Linked DNA regions of Homo sapiens: region 1 is linked to region 2. The links are contacts of gene promoters, found by promoter capture Hi-C in blood cells and fetal thymus (Javierre and others, 2016). All regions are on one chromosome and are shown on one strand. The core of a region is centred on a gene start or on the middle of the fragment in contact, and the rest is flanking DNA. Distances in the headings are between cores, read along the strand shown. Region 1 holds the start of THOC7-AS1 (THOC7 antisense RNA 1). Region 2 holds the start of PSMD6-AS1 (PSMD6 antisense RNA 1).

What was found. Contacts are between HindIII fragments. The CHiCAGO score rates a contact against its expected background, and 5 or more counts as called.
Region 1: a contact is called between the fragment with the promoter of THOC7-AS1 here and the fragment with the promoter of PSMD6-AS1 in region 2, in 15 of 17 cell types (total CD8 T cells, naive CD4 T cells, monocytes and 12 more). The highest score is 14.7, in total CD8 T cells.

Annotation. Positions count from the first base shown.
Region 1 is chr3:63,858,939-63,864,549 of GRCh38, forward strand. It overlaps THOC7-AS1 (THOC7 antisense RNA 1), which reads left to right and starts at 1,707. Exons shown (of 2, transcript NR_104326.1): 1 at 1,707-2,058; 2 at 2,561-2,881. It overlaps THOC7 (THO complex subunit 7), which reads right to left and starts at 4,867. Exons shown (of 8, transcript NM_025075.4): 1 at 4,834-4,867. The coding sequence starts at 4,852. It overlaps ATXN7 (ataxin 7), which reads left to right and starts at 4,929. Exons shown (of 13, transcript NM_001377405.1): 1 at 4,929-5,220. RefSeq lists silencers at 4,586-4,805, 5,136-5,375, 5,386-5,605. The HindIII fragment of the contact is 14,056 bases long and covers 1-5,611 here.
Region 2 is chr3:64,008,358-64,013,737 of GRCh38, forward strand. PSMD6-AS1 (PSMD6 antisense RNA 1) reads left to right here and starts at 3,607. Exons shown (of 2, transcript NR_189168.1): 1 at 3,607-3,685. PSMD6 (proteasome 26S subunit, non-ATPase 6) reads right to left here. Exons shown (of 8, transcript NM_014814.3): 6 at 5,082-5,250; 7 at 2,521-2,598; 8 at 2,194-2,407. The coding sequence ends at 2,311. It overlaps PSMD6-AS2 (PSMD6 antisense RNA 2), which reads left to right. Exons shown (of 3, transcript NR_038286.1): 2 at 1,340-1,396; 3 at 3,440-3,886. The HindIII fragment of the contact is 1,623 bases long and covers 2,711-4,333 here.

The DNA of each region.
Region 1 (5,611 bases), core at 457-2,956, 150 kb before region 2:
AAGAGCTCCCAGTCCAACTGGATACGCAGACCCAGAGGAATGGATTACATGAAGGGACAGTGATACAGGCACATCAAATTTGTAAAAGACATTGGCTCTTATGTAAGCTCCATGGACAGGTACTGGTACTCCTCCAAGAGCTTTCCAGGAGGATGAATGAGATATCAAGAGCATCCACTTCTATCTTCCACACTAACATCGCTCTAATCCAAGCCCACATTTCTCTCATCTGGAATATTTTGCATTGGACTCCCTGTTTCCATTCTTGCCTTCCTAGAATCCATTTTTTATGCAACTCAGAATGATCTAAAAGATGAATTGGATCACTAACTCTCCTGCTTACAATCCTCCTATCATTTCTAAATGCCCACAAAGGACAATTCAGTCTCCTTTCCAAAGCCTGCAAGGCTCCTCCTGAGCTCCCTTTTACCTCCTTTTGCATCGTACTCCTCTTGGCCCACCTGGATGCAGTCCTGTCCCTAGATCCAGCCCAGTGGCTTTCCTTATTTCCTCTAAAGGGTGCAGAGCTTGTTTTCACCTCGGGCCTTTGCACTAGTTGTTGTCTCTATCTGGAATACTTTCCTGGGCTCTTCATGTGGTTGAACCTGTCAGGTATCACTGCCCTCCCCCATTACTCTCTGTCCTCATTCCATCAAGTTCATTCTCAGAACTTAATTACATTCCTTTTCAGAAATTATCTTATTTACTTATTTGATTGCACACTATGGCTTCTTTCCCCAAAGCAGGGGCCAGGGCCCTCCTCTGTCTAGTTCACTGCAAAGTAGCCAGGACCTCGCATTGTGCCTAGAAGGTATGCAATAAATACTTGTTGACGGATCACACATACCACTCATTTCAGCTTGATTTTTTCAAAAGCTCAGCTGACAAAAACCATGTTTATAGAGGATTGTCTGAAGAAGTTGTAGTTTGTCTTTCCTCTATGGTCTAGATATTCAATCAAAAAACCCTGATTTGAATCAAGCCAGATCAGCAGAGCTACCCACTACCCACCTAAACCACATTGTCCATTGATTTTATTTATTTATTTTTAGACAGGGTCTAGCACTGTTGACAGGCTGGAGTGCAGTGGTGCAATCATGGCTCGTTGCAACCTCAAACTCCTGGGCTCAAGTGATCCTCCTGCCTCAGCCTCCTGAGTAGCTGGGACTACCTACAGGTGTGTTCCACTCCACCTGGCTAATTTAAGAAAATTTTTAGTAGAGATGAGTAGCTGAGACTACAGGTGCACACCACCACACACGCCTGGCTAATTTGAAAAATTCTGTAGTATAGATCATGTCTTGCTGTGTTGCTTAGGATGGTCGCAAACTCCTGGGCTCACGTGATCCTCCTGCCTTAGCATCCCAAAGTGCTAAGATTGATTACAGGTGTGAGCTACCACACCCAGCCTCTACTGGCTTTAGAATGTCTTTCTAAATTGTGATTTAGCCTTCTTTTACCTAGCAAGGGATGTGCTACAAAACAGCTCTATGATCTTCAGTGCTGAAAAGAGGTTAAGGATATGACACTGGCTTTCATTTATAAAGACCTCAATGATAAACTTTTCCTCTAGTTCAAATCAGAAAAAAAAAGTGCTTTTCCTGGGCATCTAAGATTGCCTTCTCTCATGAACACTAGATCACAGAGCAGACGAGGTCCTGCCTCTCAGAATGGCCTACTGGAGAAACAGGTCACTTACAGCTTGGTTAATTAATGTACTAGACTTTATCCTCCTGCATTTTGAGGATCACCCCACTTCTGACTTCCCTTTATTTTTCCTAATCTCAATGTTCTTTTTGTCTTGTTTTCTAATCCGTTTAATTTTTATATTTTCTCATTACAGTGAACTGCCTTAAATGTTTTCTAGCATAAGGCATATAAATAACGTATTAAGGGTGACAGCAGCAATATGCATAAAATAATATGGCTAGTAGGCAGAAGGTCAACTACTTCTAGGAAAGAAAAGAGGGGATTTTTGAGGTGGGTCTTGAGGAATAAGTGGAGTGTCACCTGATAGAAAAGGCAGGAAAAGGCAACCTGTGCAGATTAAGAGAGAAGGCAAAGTCCACATCAAAGGAAAGTGGAAGACAGATTAGTAAAACAACTCTGACATTAATATTTACTGAATATTAATTATTATGTGTTGGACTCAATGCAAAGCCCTTTACAACTTTTTGTGTTTAATCCTCAAAACAATCCGCTGATGTGGATTTTATTATTATCTCCGTTCAGAGACTGAAGCTGAGACAGTCTGTAAGTGGCAGGGTAGAGATTCCTGTGGCTTTTAAGGATGTGGGGGGGCACTTGACTGCAGTCATTACTTTAGAACTCATCTTCTGTCCCTATCTCCCATCTGACAAAGCCTGTTGCTCCTTTGGACATCTCAATCTCAATAAATAGAAAAGTAGCACTAACAGGCACACAGTGAAGTCAAAAACCTGGGATCATCCTAAATCCCTTCTCCCACCATCCATTCAATACCTGAAGTCCTGACATTCTACCTCACAAATTTCCCTATTTCCCTCCCACCTGTCCTCTTTGCATTCCCTCTTGGTCACAGTCCTCATTGTCTCTCACCAGGGCCACTGCAGAAGTAGCAGACACAGGACGCATAATAGTGAAGAGCAGGAACTCGGCAGGTGGTCTCCCTGCCTTTGACCCTCTATAACTACTATCTGTGCGACCTTAGGCAAGCTAACCTGTGTCTGTTTCATCTGTAAAATGGGGATAACAATTAGAATAATACCTAACAGCACTACGTAAACGTTAGTAAGTGGCGAGGAAACTTAGCTCCTCATTTTCTCTTCCTCTAATCATTCTGCACATAACAGAGACAGTGTGTATGTGTGTGTGTGTTTTTTTTTTTTTTAATGAGACACGGTCTCACTCTGTCACCCAGACTGGAGTGCACTGGCGCGATCTTGGCTCACTGCAGCCTCAACCTCCCAGGCTCAAGTGATCCTTTCTCCTCAGACTCCCAAGTCCTGGGACTACAGGTGTGTGCCACTGTGCCAGACCAATTTTTTTGTATTTGTAGACATGGGGTCTCACTATGTTTTCCAGGCTGGTCTTGAACTTCTGAGCTCAAGAGGTCCGCCTGCCTTGGCCTCCCAAAGTGTTGGGATTACAGGCGTGAGCCACTGTGCCCGGCATGTGTGTGTGTTTTAATGCCAATCTGATTAACACCACACCAGTGTTAAAACTTTTAATGGATTCCTATTGCCCTTAGAGATCTCTGGCTCATAACTTTCTAAATTCTAGCAATACTTGTCAGCTTTGAGTTCTTCCAACATCTTGGGGTCTTTATACAAGTGGCTACCAACCCAGAACACCAGTCCAATATCTATTTATTCTTCAAAAATGGGATTAACTTCGAGGAGGCTTTCTCATTTCCATTGATTGGATAAATAATCTTTGTTACATGTTCCTACAGTTCCCAACCTTGTACTTCCTTGTGGTAATATTTGTCACTCTTAAAACTCATTAGTCAATGTTTCTTTCCCTTCAGACCAAAATTTTGGAGAGGGAAAAGTTCTTGCTTGTTAGTTCTGGGTTGTAATCCCAAAGCCTAGTCCAGGAAGGATAAATATCCACTAAATAAATGAAACTGGAATGAAGCAAAGCTGAAATTCCACATGAAGTTCCTGGGTCTTTAGTAGCCTCCCACCTCCACTACTCTTTATCAGTCTGGAAATTTGGGCCTATCACTGTTCTTCCCATGGCCAGGCCCTTTAATGTGGAGACCCTGGTGGTCTTCAACTCTTAAGAAGTGGCCTCTCCACAGGCATTTACAGTTACCGGTCACCATCTCCTGAAAAACACCCAAGAGCCCTAGATATCCCCTTCCCAGATATCAAAGGACCTCCTTCCTCCCTAACCAGATACCTTGTAGGTTCTCCCTCCAGTTGCCAATCATGCCCCTTCCCCCAAAGTGTCACCTTATTTCCGCTCTCAGTCCATAGACCATCTCCCTTAGACTGTCCACAAACCCAGCCTTTGCCCCTCTAAATTCATCCCAGCTGACAACCACCCTTCCTAACACACACACATACATCTTTTATCGTCCTGATCTACCCTAGACGGTCTCATCACTATACTGGCTCCTCCTTACCCCCGTAAATCTCCCAGGTACACTTCCTGATCACCCTCCGGATACCTCATCCCTATCTATTCCTTTTATAAATAATTCCCTGCTCCTCCTTCTCACCCACAATCCACTCGCAGTTCAAGGCCTCATTGCCATCGACTCCACTGTCTGTGAGTGCTTCCCAATATGCCCCAGGACCCCTCCTGGTGTCACGCTCTGTATCCTGACACCCCTTGTAGACGAGTCCCGAAATTCCCGCCCCGTCCCTGGAGCTCCCACTCCCTCCCAGACCTCCACAAACCTTCCAGGCCCCCAGCCCTAAGCCCGGCACCACTGTCCACCCTTCGCGGCTCCTGGGTCCTCACCGCGCCCCTAGACAAACCCGGACTCCCTCTGGTCCCACCCGCCCTTGCACCGCTTCTAGCCGTCTCGGCCACCCACGTGTGTTCCCAGCCCACCGACCACGCTCCCGGCACACCCTATAGCCCCGCGCTGCCTCCGGGAGAGCGGACGGGGAAAGCCGAGGGTCTCCGAGGGGCGCTCGGGCTCTGGCGAGAGGAGGAAGGACTCAGGGAAGCAGCCGGGGAGGCCCGGGGCTCCGGGGAGAGGTCGGGAAGGCCGAAGCGCTCTGGCGAAGAGGCCGGGGAGGCCGAGGGGTTCCCGGAAGCGGGCCGGGAGGCCAGGGGTCTCAGGGGAGGCCCAGCGGGCCGTGCAGCGGGCGCGTGTGGCGGCGAGCGGGGCCTCACCGTCAGTCACGGCTCCCATGGCGTGCGCGGCGGCGGCGGCGGCGGCGGCGGCGCAAGCTGAGGCGGCGGTTGGCGGCGGCGGAGGTCAAACTCCCACAATGCAGCCGGGTAAACAGCCATGGAGGAGGAGGCGGCGGCGCCCGCGGCCGCCTGCTCCGACGCCTGAGCCGCGCCGCGCCGCGCCGCCGCCGCCGCCGCCGCCGCCGCGGGACCCGCGCTCCCCGCGCTCCCGGTACTCCCCGGGGGCGGCCGCGGCCGGCGCGAGTTGGGGCGAGGCTTGGCGGCCGGCGGCGGCCCCGGCTGCAGCCCGGGCTCCCGCCGCCCCCCTTGCAGCCCCCGCCCGGCCCACGCCCAGAGGCCGCCCCGGAGGCCGCAGCCAGCCGCCAGGTGAGCTCGCCCGGACGCCGCCAGGGCTGCGGGGGTGCGGCGGGAGCTGCGGGCCGCCCGCAGTCGGGGTCCCGGCTTCTTCCCCGGGAAGGTGACTGCGGCCCCGCCGCCCCATCCAGGGTGACGCTGCTAGGGGTGGGCTCGTTTCCCTGGGGGGTGGGGAGGGTGACGGGGACGCCCGGATCCGGCTGAGCCCAGGAGAGGCGGGACTAGGGGTACCGAGGGGGGCGCGTCGCTGGGGGTCCCCGCGAAGTTGGCGCCCACGCGCGCTGGGGCGGGTCTCGAACGCCGGCACTTGCGCGGGGCGCGGCCGGCAATCAAAAAAGGCCCCGGGTTCCAGGTCGCGCGGTTCCGGCCCCTGCGGCCGCCCCCTTCCTTCCTGGGCTCGGCG
Region 2 (5,380 bases), core at 2,357-4,856:
TCAGAAAACAAGCTGTACCAGTTAAAGCTACTAGAGACAGGATAAAGGTTAGGAATTCTTTGGATAGTTTCTCCTAGCTCAAGCTTGTCCAACCCAGAGCCCACAACAGCTTTGAATGTGGCCCAACACACATTTGTAAGTTTTCTTAAAACATTATGAGCTGTTTTGTTTTGAGCTCATCAGCTATCCTTAGCGTATTTTGTGTCACCCAAGACAATTCTTCCAGTGTGGCCCAGGGAAGCCAAAAGATGGGACACCCCTGTCTTAGTTGATTAACACAGGAGGCTGTTAACCATCAACCTCACATGCACAATATTGGGGGTAGTGCAGGGATAACAAGCTCAAATGCCAGCAGGGGCCAGGCAGACAGGCAGTGTATATGAACAGACTGGGTGGACTGGGGCACACTGGAAAACACGCTATGCTTGTCGCTCAGCTTATTGGAGCGTGAGTCCAGATTTAGCTTCACCTGTCCTTTTTCCAGAGAAGCTAGATATGTGGTTTTTAAACTGTCAACTTTTACGTGGTAACTATAAATTTTTTTCTTGGAAAAGTATTTAGGGTGTGTCAATTGCCGCCTGTGGGTGAACAACTGCAACTCTGTAGCATTCAGAAGCCACCTTTGCATTCCTGACTAGCTTTGGTTTTCTGTAGAAAACCAAAAAGCTGAGGTTTTTTTCCTTTAAGAAATGTTTTCTAGATAAGCATTTTTAGAAATTCATAGGTGGATATTCTCAAATACATTAGGCATAGTCAGCATTTTAAAAGCCTCCCCTCCACAATACAGTGCCTACAGGAAACTCCTTTCAAAACAGAGATCTAGCCACATTGCTTTCCTTGGCATACAACCAATGGCTCTTCTTCCAGCGATGAGAGCTGCTGTCTTCACTTTTAAGATAATGCTTCTAATATTTTGCCATTAATTACCTTGTGATAGGGCTTTGATATCCCAACCTATTATTCATAGTCTACTGAAGAGTTTTTTTATCATGAAGAAATGTTGAATTATATCAAATTATTTTCAATCAAATGAGATCATGTTAACAGGAGTATGTTATTCCTGTTAGGAATTCCATATTAGGAATATGTTATTCCTAATATGTTAACAGGAATCATTCCCATCAGTAAATGTTATTTAAAGCAAAAAAACTCAAAACTCTTCTTTCCTTCCCTTGCCTTTTACAGTAAAATGCCATTTCCCATTCTCTTCTGAACTCACCTCTACCAAAACTGCTCATTAAGGTCACTAGCTGTCTTTCACTTAAGCCAAAAAGCCTAGGATCTCCTCTGACAAATTTTCTCCCCCTCATCCTCCTCACCCCATTCTTCAATCTTTTAGCAAATCCAGCTGCCTGTACAATCCATGCCACCGAATGCCGTAAGTGAGACGTAAAAGGTAAGCCAAATCCGCACTTAAAATTGCCAGTGACTTTCCTCGTCTTTCTTCCCTCCATACGTTCATGGGCTCTCCCTCCTTTTCACTTAAATGTCACCTTACCATAGAAGCCTTCCACAACACCTCAGAAGACGGCCTATACCCTGTATCTCTATCTATCTATCTATCTATCTGTCTGTCTATCTGGTTTTATACTTCTTATAGCACTTATTCCTATCTGACACACTGAATAAAACTGATAAAACTAATAAACTGTTTCAAACAAACAGAGGAACAACTTTGTTTTCCTCACTGCTATTATTACTATGGTCCTACTTTTGGAAAAAAGATTCAGTTTGCTAATAAATACTTACATATAAGGTTTTAGAAAACTGAGATCAGCCTTGGTAGATTCTGTAATCCAGGTTATGTCAGCTTCCTAAAAAAGAGTAACTTCCTGCCTTATATGGTTACTTGTTTCTGAGGGAAAGCTTATTACACATTTTCTTTATCTTCTATCTTTTGTATACTAAAAGTGGGAGACACTGTTTGTTTAATTTTAGGCCACTACTCTTCTTTCTAAAATCGGGAAGCTTACAGGTAAGAGATTTAAAGGTAAGCGATAATGGGCTGTGTCAACATCCGTATTTTACTGACGTATTTTACTGATGAGGCAGTCAGGAGCTGAACCTAGCTGAACCCAGCTGCAACCTTACCCTATAAACCAGATTTTCATTAATGAATAATTCAAGTGACATTATTTTAACATAAGTGGACCCGATTCTAGAAGGCCTATGTGTTTAAGAAAAAAATAAATGGAAAGAAACAACAATGCAGTATTTATTTTATACAGCTGACCTGGGCACATTGTGAAGTAAGCTATAAAAATTCCAAATAATTATCTCTAAAGCAAATCCTTTGTTAGTTACATGGCTTTACATATTAATTACTCTGGAAAGTTTTTGAACTCTGTTTAGTAGCAGATCTCCTTTCTTGATAGTTTCTTGGTACTGCCAGTTCTTGCTATCAGGTCTATAAATAAATTCAAGAAAAAATGAATTATTTACCAGTCACATTATTCCATGACAATAGTTGACCTACTTTTAAAATTTAGGAATGCCCCTTATTCTGAGAAATGAGAGTACCTGTTGGTTTCTACTATTTCATTCACTTTATCTATTTTGCAGTGTAGTCTCCCGGCAGCAATAAACCTGGACAGTTCCCTAATTTAGAGACAAAAAATAACAGAATTAGCTTTATAGAAAATTCTTAGAAAAATGCAAACGGCATTAAAATACTGTCTTAAATTTGTAACAAACATTTAGCTTCCCTTCAAGCTTGTTATTGCACATGCAGTAGTTGACGTTGTCCCTCCTATACTGCAGGCTTTAAGTCATCATCTACTAGAATAAACATGATCCTAGAAGTTCATATTCAGATAGATAGAAAGTAGATCAAACAATGAAACCATATGTACTCAGAGAAAAACTGTAGGTTAGGAAAAATTAGGGACCAAAACTGATAAAAACAGTAAACTGTTTCAAACAAAAGACCTAAAACAAAATTATGGAACACAGCCCATCAGTAAACATGTCAACAGCAATAGTATTAACATGTCAACAGCAATAGTATTTACTAAAACAACGACCCTTTCCCTCTCTAACATATCTTAGTCTAAACAAGTGGAAGGGAAGGGGAGAAATGATGTAGAATTATTGCTTTGCCCATTTTAAAAAAGGGGATTTCATCTAAAATGTAACTTTTTAAGGGAGAAAAAAAGAATAAAGAATCCATGACAACCCAGATTTGAAATTCTTAGGTATCACAGAAATTTAAAACAAGGCCTTTTTAGGTAACAACAACTAGAGCTCAGTGGTACAACCTTTGCCTCTCAAGCTGGTCTTAGAACATGAAGGGAAAAAAAAAAAACTGAACAAATACTACCTGAATTCAACTACTACCTGAAAGGTACCAGCTGCCTTGCATTCACTTGTCATCAAGATGACTTAAGGAATACTGCGGTGTGTGCCCCTAACTAATGAAGGCTTTATCTCCACATTACAGTTACGATACTGAAGAGACGTAACCTGACCAAGGCCACAGAGCTGGAAAAAGAAGCAAAGCCAAGCCGTTTTTCTCATGCACTGCTCACAACAAGCCCCTCCTTCCACTGACTCATGAAAAACACACTCATAATGCCCAGCCCGCACCCTAATGAACAGCCCTCTTAAGAGTGGTCATCAGACTTCAATTTCACAGACTAGAATTGAGAAATGGAACAAAACCTTGGGATACCAGCCTTCCATTTTGGTAGGGATCATTTAAAAAATGGTAGGGATCATTTAAAAAATGTGTTGGTGTCTGAAACTTACTTTGAAGTGGTTAAAAAACATAAAATGTATAGATTGTAACAAGCAAATATGTTAAAATGTACTGTACAATTCTTTCTTTACAATTTTATGGATGTTCGAAATTTAAAAAATACTAGAAAGAGAATGGTCTTATTTAAAAGAAATGCATCTTCATTTAAAGTTTCCACTGCAGACCATTGAAAACACCATCATCAACATTTAAAAACACCTACATGTGGGAGCCACTGATCTAGATGCCATCTGGACATCCCATATTGAGTATGTCTCCTACCCAACTCTACTCTCACCACCCTCGTCCACGCCACGGTAACATCTCCTCTAAGAGCTACTAAACAGCACAACTGGTCCTCTCTGCCACCTTACTCTATTTCTTATATAAAGACACTGCATAGGACCATGTAACTTGGGCTCTAAATCTTCCAATGGCTCCCTATCAAACTTACTTAAAACTCAAGCTCCATCCCATGACCTACAAGGCCCTACACAAATCATTACCTACCTAACTCTCCATATATTATCCTCAAAATCTCCTACCACTCCAACTATGCTGGAGCCACCCTGACATTTTCTGTTCCTACAACATCCAAGCTTATTCCTGGCTCAAAGCCTTAGCCTTTTCTATTCCCTTTTCTGCACGCAGAAGGACTCCATATGGCTGACTCCTCTCAATTCAAATCTCAGAGCAAACCTCACCTCCTTAAGCATGCCGTACGTAAGGATAGCATTTTCTCATCTCCATAGGTTCATTTCTATATGTGAAATTACGTTTTATATTTATTTGCTTCCTTGCCATCTCTTCCCTACTACTACAATGAAAGTGTGAAAAGGGAGCTGTAAAACAATACCAAACATATAGTAATGAATGGCTCATTAAGTATTTATTTGTTTAATCACTGATGCAAGTACTAAAAGTCCCACATTTAACAACCAATCTGACCAGAATTGCAGCAGCAACCTAAAAACTGGAAGGAATTATCAGAGGGAATATGACCAACTGTAAATATCAGATCTAAGAGTCATTACCGTAGCTGCAGTGTGGTCTACAAAGAAGTAACAGAAGACAACTTTTGATAACAACTGGTCTAATGACCTTTAACAAATCACTTAGCCTCACTACAACTCATCTTCCCATCTGTTAATGCAAGGGGCAGACATGACATGAGGAAGGCAGAGGCAACAGGATACGAATGTTTTGATAATACTGAGGAAAAAAACCTCTCCCCTCCCCGTTAAGATTGAGGGAACCAATGTAAACAAGTAAAAAATTGTACAAGTTCACATATTTTAAAAGGCAACTTTAAAACTTCAATTAACATGGCATTATTCAAACTTACTGATCAATGAATTCCACACCAACACCAAACGCTTCTGCCATATAGCCAAGGGTTAATGACCTATATGATTCCAGCAGCTGACTGTATGCATGAATTCTCATTTCTCTTACATAGTATCGATAATGAGGGGCAAAAAGCCAGTCCTTTTTCATTTCCTGTTCCACAACCGCTGCAATGAATAAAATGACAAATTATAATAGACTCTCCGTTTCAGATAAAAAGATTAAAAACTAAAGCAACACTACTAGTTGAGTCCAACAGATAGATGAACAAGTATCAAATTTCTCACTGCCCTTCCA